3 separate regions of the Homo sapiens genome follow, and all the other regions are linked to region 2. The links are contacts of gene promoters, found by promoter capture Hi-C in human tissues and cell types (Jung and others, 2019). All regions are on one chromosome and are shown on one strand. Each heading gives the region's core, a stretch centred on a gene start or on the middle of the fragment in contact. The rest is flanking DNA. Distances are from core to core; before and after follow the strand shown.

Region 1 (2,700 bases), core at 164-2,663, 100 kb before region 2:
CCCAGCACTTTGGGAGGCCGAGGTGGGAGGATCGCTTGAGCCCAGGAATTGAGACTAGCGTGAGTAACATAGCAAGACCCTGTCTCAAAAAAAAAAAAAAAAAGCCTTGTCACTTAGAGTTTGTGCTTCATATCAAATGATAACAACCACATTGTGCTACACCACAAGTCACACAGTGGGAAGGATTTAAGAGGGTTAAATAGTTTTTTTGTTTCTTTTTTTTTTTTTTTTTTTTTTTTTTGAGATGGTCTTGCTCTGCTGCCCAGGCTGGAGTGCAGTGGTACAGTCAGCTCACTGTAACCTCGATGTCCTGGGCTCAAGCAATCCTGCTTCAGCCTCCTAAGTAGCTATTTTTTTTTTTTTTTAATTTTTTTGTAGAGATGAGGTAATTGCTGGGGTAGGGGTGATGGTGGAGTGGAGGGGTAGTTTCACTATGTGGCTCAGGCCGGTCTTGAACTCCGGGGCTCAAGTGATGCTCCCGCCTTGGCCTCTCAAAGTGCTGGGATTACAGGTGTGAGCCACTATGCCTGGCCTCAGTTTCTTAAAAGGTTTTAAATCACACCAACTGGTACCAGTGCCTCTGATTGCCTTGATTTTTCTGTGATCCCACTTGGAAGTTTGTTAATGCCACACTCCACTATACTCCACACATTAGATTGCAGTGGGGGCTGGAGAGTGGCCCAGCCTTTATACATAACTCCCTTCTGTGGTTTGGCCTGTGGGACCAGTAGGGTCCCTGTGCTGTAACTCTGACTGAAGTGATGGACATTAATGCAACTACTAATTACTGATGTAGATGAGCTGCTTTACTTCTATGACCATTGAATTGACAGATTGGAATTGGAAGCACCTGTCACCTTCAAGCTTTTAAGACAACTTCACATGAATGTACAGCTTAGCCATAGCTGTATCTCATACTAACAGATTTTTGCAGTGGTGTGCACCCAGCACTTATACTTTGGTGGAAAAGCAAAATAAGGTTCCTGTTCTTCAACAGTTGAGGGTTTTAAGTCACAACTAAGTGCTTGGTTGTGCTTATACTAGGTACATTCCTATACCACGGGAACCAGGTAGTGGCTTTCCTGGCCATTTGCTAAGTTATGGTTAGACAGGAACAAGTGTAAACTAGTCTTTGTCATAGTGTAGTTTCCTGTTGTTGAAATATTCCTTTGCTTTCTCGGCTTCCCTAACATGTAAATTCTGAAGACCCATCTTAAACTCTCCCCAGTGTCCCAAATGAATTTATTCCAGTGAAGGGTAAGGGGCTTGCATTATGAACAATAGGTAGGTTTCTTTTCCAAGAGCTCTGGTCTGCTTTTGTTCATTTACTCATCTCATTTTGTGCTGTAGGAGATATACACTCCTTTTGTGCACACTGTAGATGCACAGGTATTTGGTGATGCCTCAGTCCTGGAGATCATCAGGAAGGCGGTATAGTACTGTTGTCTCAGACACCCCACAGGTGATAGACATTAAAAGAATGTAGATTTCAGCCGGGAGGGATGGGGGCAGAATTGACTACCCTATAGATGTCCTTTGAAAATTTTGATACAGATCACATTTTTTAGAGGTGAGTTCTACCTTATTTGCACTATGCATGCTTGCTACTTAAAATTTATTCCTTTGATCAACTCCTGTAAATGTGGAGTCCAGGATTTCCTACCTTCCTTCCCCAGCAGTCAGACAAATAGGGAGAATTATATTCCATGTTTGTGCAAGGCTAACATTAGCATAGATCATGAGGGGAGACCATGTGAGTCTCACTGCTGTTGTAGTGGCAGGGTAGATTTCAGATTGGGGTGAATTACAAAATGTGAACTGTTGCTAAAATGGTTGGATATAGAAATAACATTCTCAGAATCGGTTCGTGGTTCCATCAGTTATGTGACTTAGGACAGATTATTTCCCTCTGGCCTCAGTGTTTCTTTTACAGTATGGGATTAAATTAGATAAGCTTGTGTCCAGTTTTAAGCTTCTGTGATTGTATGAACCTAGCCATTCGGTTTCTGGAAATCTGTACTGAGTTTGGACCTTAAACTAAAGTGACCAGGAATGGAGCTCCAAATTTTGATCTGGGTACTGCTCTCCTGGTTTCCCTAGTGTGGTAGTGATTCTACACTGCAGCTTGAGAAATTCAAAGGGGAAGAGTCTTCATCTCTCCTTTTGGGGGCTGTCCCTGTCCTGCTAGTTATATCCTGGAGCAGGTAGACCAGAGGCATTCCTCCTGGATCCACTCCTCCTTGGTCCAATTAACCAAGAAGGAGTTAATGATACTGCAGAAGGACCCAAAGGTGCACTTCCCTGTTTGTGAGCACCTACAGGGACAGTTGACACTGGGTACTTACTCTGTGCCGGGCAGGGGATACTTTCTATGACTGTCCTCATGTAATCCTCACAAATAACACTGTAAAGTTAACATTATCATCCCTACTTTACAGGTGGGGTAATCCAGGCAGAGAAAAATAATTAATAGTAAGGGGAAAACAAAGATGTTTTAATCATGGATGCTTGTATGACTCCTCAGGTAGAAACCCTCCCTCAACTATCCCCAGCCCCTCCCTGACTTTTAGGGAAAGTGGGAGGCCACTGGCAGCAGTCTTCTGTCATGGATTCTGAGCTGCTGGGGAAGGAGCCTTTTCAGTTTGCCAACTCCAACTATAGTGTGGAGGGCCCTTACCTATTGGTAGGGCTTCTTGGCCT
Region 2 (2,700 bases), core at 201-2,700:
GAAAGGAAGGTAAAAGTGGGTACCCACTCTGTACCAGGCATTTTACACATATGACTTCATTTGATCTTACAATTCCATGTGGTTGGTACTACTGTTTTATTACCACTTTCTAGCTGAAGCTCACAGACTGCAGGAGACAAAGCTAGATGTGAACCCAGGCAATCTGACTTGAGAACCTAAATTCTCATTAAACCACCTGCATTCCAAAGGGGAAGAGCATTAAGGGCTGAATTAAGCCAATGGGCTGGGAAAGCAAACACTCAAAGAAGCCTGGGTCCATCTAGACAGTTCTACCAAGGCAAGAGCACATAAGACCTATCTTCAAACCTCTGGTATTCAAACTACCATCTGCAGGTATTGAGGACCTCTGAGAATAATAGCCAGGTAGATTACCTGACTCGATATGTATAGAGGATTTTAGCTCACTCTGACTCTTACTAGCTGGGGGACCCTAGGCAAGTCACTTGACTTCTCTAGCTCTTAGTTGTTTAATGTATCACTATGCCTGCCACAGTTCACTTGCTAGCAGATAGGCTTGGGTACATCCAGCTTTGGGATCTGAGACCCGGCCCCCTCCCCTGGTTACCATGCCGCTCAGCCTCTGAGCTCACGGGGATGCCATCTTTATCTAGTCGTTGCTTGAACAGGTTGTGTTCCACATCCAGCTGCTGTTCTCCGGCCACATCCATGGCATCAATACTCAGATCTGGAAGCAGGAAAATCAGGCTAAGGTACTGGGACCCTAGGGACAAGGGGATGTGGGTTTTGGAGGGGAAGGGGATACTGGGCCTGTCTTGGGGCAGAACGGGATGAGGAGAAGGAGGTTGTCCTGGGGTCCAGTCCAGAACCTAAGGGTGGAGGTGTGAATCTGGCAGCCCACATGAGAACCCTGGGTCTCTCCAGTCCCACCCATGGTGAGGTACTCACAGGCACAAGGCATGTGCGGAAAAAGTACATCGATGTTGATCTTCAGTTTATCTCCCCGCGACTTGTCCACGTAGAGCTCAGGATGCACCTGGGGCAGCGCTACCTCAGTAAGACTTAGCCCCAAACCTCTCCTTCCCCACTCCCACCCCTAAAGGTCCTACTCCTAGAATGCCAAGCCCCGCCCACGCACTAAGCCCCGCCCCTTACCTCCGTGGTGAGGTAATACTGCAGCTCGGACAGGAACAGTAGCAGCATGAGAAGGCCACTGACAATGGTCACTGCAGGACAAGGGGCGAGGGTCAGAATGGCCTCGAATCCGCTCCCTCAGACACCGGCAGGCCAGTCAGAGTCCAGGAGCCCGGGCTAAGCTCTAGGACGCCCCCCTCCACGCGACCCCGGCCCCGCTGCGGCCTACCGGTGGCGCCCCCGCAGGTCTTGACCCGGAAGTCCTCCAAAGTCTTGGGGTAGGCATCGAACTGCTTCAGCTTCCCCAGCGCCTCCATGGGGACCGGCCGGAAAGGGGACGCCAGCCGGCCCGCCCCTACAGACTCCCTCTTCCGGCCTGGAGCCACGCCCCCCTCTTTTTCCTCACGCAGGCGCAGCAAACCGCACGCTTGGCCCCACCTTTAGCCGCGTTCTCTTACAGGCGGCCCCGCCCAACGATGCTGCCACGCCCCCTTGCGCGGGCAATTGGGTCTGGAAGCTACTGCCCCGGCCTCCGCTGTCCGGGGCGGGATTTTGAGGACTGGGGTGCGAGGAGTTCTCTGCGGGGTTAGAAACGCTAATAGCACCGTTCGTGTGCCTTGTGCTCGGAACTGCACCAGGTGTTTAAGACTCTTGGAACATCTTGGAATATCCTGGAACAGTGGTTTTTCGAGTGTACCGGACCGGCCGCATCATTATCAACTGATTACCTATTAGAAATGCAAATAATTGATTCCCACCTACTGAAGCCGAAACGCTAGGAATGGCATCGGATGATTCTGATGTAAAGTAAGGGTGTCCGCCCTGAAAGCAGGTGTGACTTATCTCCGTTTTCCAAAGAGCAAACTGTGACCTGGAGAAGTTAAATAACTTGCCCAAGATCACAGCCAATTAATAGCAGGACCTGCTTCCAGCCCAGTTCTTCTGGACCTCAAAGTACTCTGGGAATCAGGGTCTTTTGGGTTGATTTTACCTAAACAGCGTCCCAGTGCTTCTCCTGAGCGCTGCTTTCTGAATATTACCCTAAATTGCTCTCCAGGCCCTGGGATCCTCACGGACACGCTCTATCCCTCCAGGTTTAGACTCAAGTGATATGGAGCTTAAGCTCTCCCTGACACTTCCCATTGCAGCCCAGTGTCTCTAGAGGGACAGCTCCCACAGTAATGCAGCTGCAATGAGTAAGATATAAAAGCTCATAGGCTTTCATACAGGAATTCCACTTTAGGAAGTAAAAGCACCATGTCAAGGTTAATAGAAAAATTTTGAAAAAGAAAAAATATGTAAGCAGCTATCCAAGGTTAACAGAAAAAAATTTTAATATAAGGATAAAAGTACCATGATCTGGGTGGTTGTTACACCTTAAGATATTGAATCTGTCTCTTAAAGATTTTAAGTGCACCACATCATAAAGATGTATGCATGAGATTGTTCAATGGCAAAAATCTGGAACCAGCCAGAATGCCCACTGATACATTAAATAAATTGAATAAATCACGATACACCCATTCTATGGAATATTAGGCCACTTTTCAAAAGAATGAGGTAGATTTACTCCTTTAGGTATACTAA
Region 3 (2,700 bases), core at 193-2,692, 66 kb after region 2:
CAAAATTAGCCAGGCATGGTGGTGCATGCCTGTAATCCCAGATATTCAGGAGGCTGAGGCAAGAGAATTGCTTGAACCCGGGATGCAGAGGTTGCAGCGAGCCAAGATCGTGCCACTGTACTCCAGCCTGGGCAACAAGAGCAAAACTCCATCTCAAAAAAAAAAAATTAGCCAGGTGTGGTGACACATGCCTGTAATCCCAGCTACTCAGGAGGCTGAGGCAGGAGAATTGCTTGAACCCAGGAGATGAAAACTGCAGTTAGCTAAGATCGCACCACTGCACTCCAGCCTAGGTGACAGAGGGAGATCCATCTCAAGAAAACCCCAGCAAAAAACCTAGTCTTCCTTCCAGAGGACATGGGCCCCTTCCCAACCTTGGTGTCTTACCCTGAAGTCCAGAGGTGGTTCTGCTGGAGGTGTGGGAGGGGAATATTTATAATGGCTAAGCCCAATCCTTACAGTCTTTGCTCTCCTCTGCATTGTAAATGTTCCTTTTGCTCATTTCAGACCTACATTTGGGAGCTGATCCGTCTTGCTCTCAGTTAGGGCCCAGCCCTTCTGTGGGGACCAGGAAAATCTTTGCTCACCTGGAGAAGCTGCTGGTTCAGCCCAACTTTATCTAACGCCAAAGCCTCATTTAAGGCACTGAGCTTGACAGCTGCAGCCCGAAGATCAGCTACTTCTGTCTTCAGGGTGTTTTCAGAACTCGACAGCTCTGCAATTGACTGCTCTGCCTAAAAAACAAAAAGGATTAAAGAGTTTCATATTTCCAATTTTCCTGGAACAGTAAACAGTTCACATTCCCAACACTGCTGCTTTTTGGTACAGAGATCAGTTAATACTCCATTCCCTCTCCTGCATTCTAAACAAGTTTTCCCTTCATTCATTCATTAAGGAGTGAGACAGGACCTCACAGTATAGAGATACCAAAGTTAGGATAGAGAAATGACTATGATTGTAATGATGCCACAGAAAATGTAAGCACAAAGTGCTCTGGGAACTAAAAAAAATATTAATATAGTTTGGAAGAGTCAAATATGCTTGGTAGAGGAGTTGACGATTAAGTTGTGTACTGAGAGATGAGGAACAGTTTGCACATAAAGGAAGAGGAAAGAAGTAGTGCAGAGAAAGGGAAAAGTACACGCAGAGTATTAGAGTCATGAAGAACATGGAATAACTGAGAAGGCAATTACTGCTGTGGCAGGAGCAAAGGATATGAGGTGTTAGGATGGGTTTTGCAGTAGAAGGGGAGGCTAAAACACACTTTGAGGCACATGACAAAAAGCTTTGAATGTGGCACCACAGAGCTAGAAAGCCGTTGAATGGTTTTAAGAGACTGACATAACCAGGTATATACTTTAGAAAGCCCATTCTAATTCCAATATAGAGGGTATGTTGGAATAGAGAACCCAGAAGCAGACTAATGATTGAGGAAAGATGAGGGATCCTGGCTTGAAGGTGAAGAATGAGGCAGGCTGCATGGGAACACACTTTCGAAGCCGCCCACCCAGCAAGTGAGGAGAGGAGGCCACGCACCCTAGCCAGCGCTGCGGTCACTTCCGTTTGCTCTTGCCTCAGTAACTCCCCTTCCAGGTGACTTGACTCCAGGGCTTCCCGAAGAGTGATCAGTTCACTGAGTGATTCTGACTGTTTGGCTTCCAGGCCCATCAGCATCTCCTGACTAAGATGGGAAAGAGAGGGGTCTAGAGGAACTCTTAGGGATGGGCCATAACCCCAAAGGTAACAGGAATATAATCACCTTTGCTATGCAACAGAATGAGGATGGTCTATAAACACTGATAAGGAAAGATTTCTAAGACATGTCAAGTGAAAAAAATCAAGGTGCAGAACAGTATATACATGATACACTACCTTTTATGCAAGAAAGTGGGGGAAGAAAGAATATATGCCCGTATTTGCATGAAGGAGCACTGGCAAGATAAACAAGAAGTCAGCTAAAATGGTTGCCTAAAGGGGGAAGGGAAATGGGATGGAGAAAGCACAAATGAGAGTGAGACTTCTCTGTGTATCTTCTTAGCTCACTGAAGCCTCAAACTCCTGGGGGCTCATGTGATCCTCCCATCTCACCTTGCCATGGCTACAGGCACATGCCACCACATTCAGCTACAGCTAATTTTTTGTTGTTAGGGGTTGTCTGCCCTTCTCCTTGGTACAGGGAGATCATTCTTAGCACAAGTCATGACCCTTATGGCAGCCCTTCAAGCTTCCACTATTCATGCCTACCAGGTACAAGGAACTGGGGCACAGGAGAGGAGGGAAATACAGCAAAGATGAAGATATATCCCTGCTCCCAGTTATTAAAGACCTACCATATGCCAGGTTCTATGCTGGCGTTTTCCAAAACATTGCTCTCATCTTCCCAGCAACCCTTCAAGGTAAATATTATCATCATTCTACAAATAATCTGTCCATGTGACAGAGCCATAATTTAAACTAAGCTTCTGCCTAGCTCAAAGTCCTTGCTTTTTCTGTGACATCATATAGGGGAATTTACAGATTAGCTGGGGCCATTGATTCTGGATTTCCCTTTCTTGACCAGCTAGCACATTTCCCACTACTTCCCTGTATAAGTCTTACCCTTTAGCCAGCCCAGCCTACTCTGAACATGCCATGAACCTTCCTGCCGCCTTTTCTTTGCTAATCTGTTCCTTGAGCTCTTCTCCCACTCTCTGCTAACCA

What was found. The method cuts DNA at HindIII sites, captures the fragments that hold promoters and counts their contacts. A contact is called where the count stands out against the background at its distance.
Region 1: a fragment that was not itself captured here is called in contact with the fragment with the promoter of ERGIC3 in region 2 in 13 of the 25 tissues and cell types used here (H1 embryonic stem cells, adrenal gland, aorta and 10 more).
Region 3: a contact is called between a fragment that was not itself captured here and the fragment with the promoter of ERGIC3 in region 2, in 9 of the 25 tissues and cell types used here (H1 embryonic stem cells, IMR-90 fibroblasts, bladder and 6 more).

The regions. Positions count from the first base shown.
Region 1 is chr20:35,643,794-35,646,493 of GRCh38, reverse strand. The region is part of intron 1 of CPNE1 (copine 1); the gene reads left to right. Among named protein-coding and RNA genes, the nearest start is that of CPNE1, 20 kb to the left of the region's middle. The HindIII fragment of the contact is 5,383 bases long and covers 1-2,700 here.
Region 2 is chr20:35,540,828-35,543,527 of GRCh38, reverse strand. ERGIC3 (ERGIC and golgi 3) reads right to left here and starts at 1,450. Exons shown (of 13, transcript NM_015966.3): 1 at 1,343-1,450; 2 at 1,135-1,205; 3 at 928-1,015; 4 at 587-706. The coding sequence starts at 1,430. RefSeq lists an enhancer at 1,689-1,778. The HindIII fragment of the contact is 35,337 bases long and covers 1-2,700 here.
Region 3 is chr20:35,474,483-35,477,182 of GRCh38, reverse strand. It overlaps CEP250 (centrosomal protein 250), which reads right to left. Exons shown (of 35, transcript NM_007186.6): 15 at 1,537-1,681; 16 at 588-734. It overlaps CEP250-AS1 (CEP250 antisense RNA 1), which reads left to right. Exons shown (of 3, transcript NR_184017.1): 3 at 508-2,700. Among named protein-coding and RNA genes, the nearest start is that of CEP250-AS1, 15 kb to the left of the region's middle. The HindIII fragment of the contact is 3,045 bases long and covers 1-2,700 here.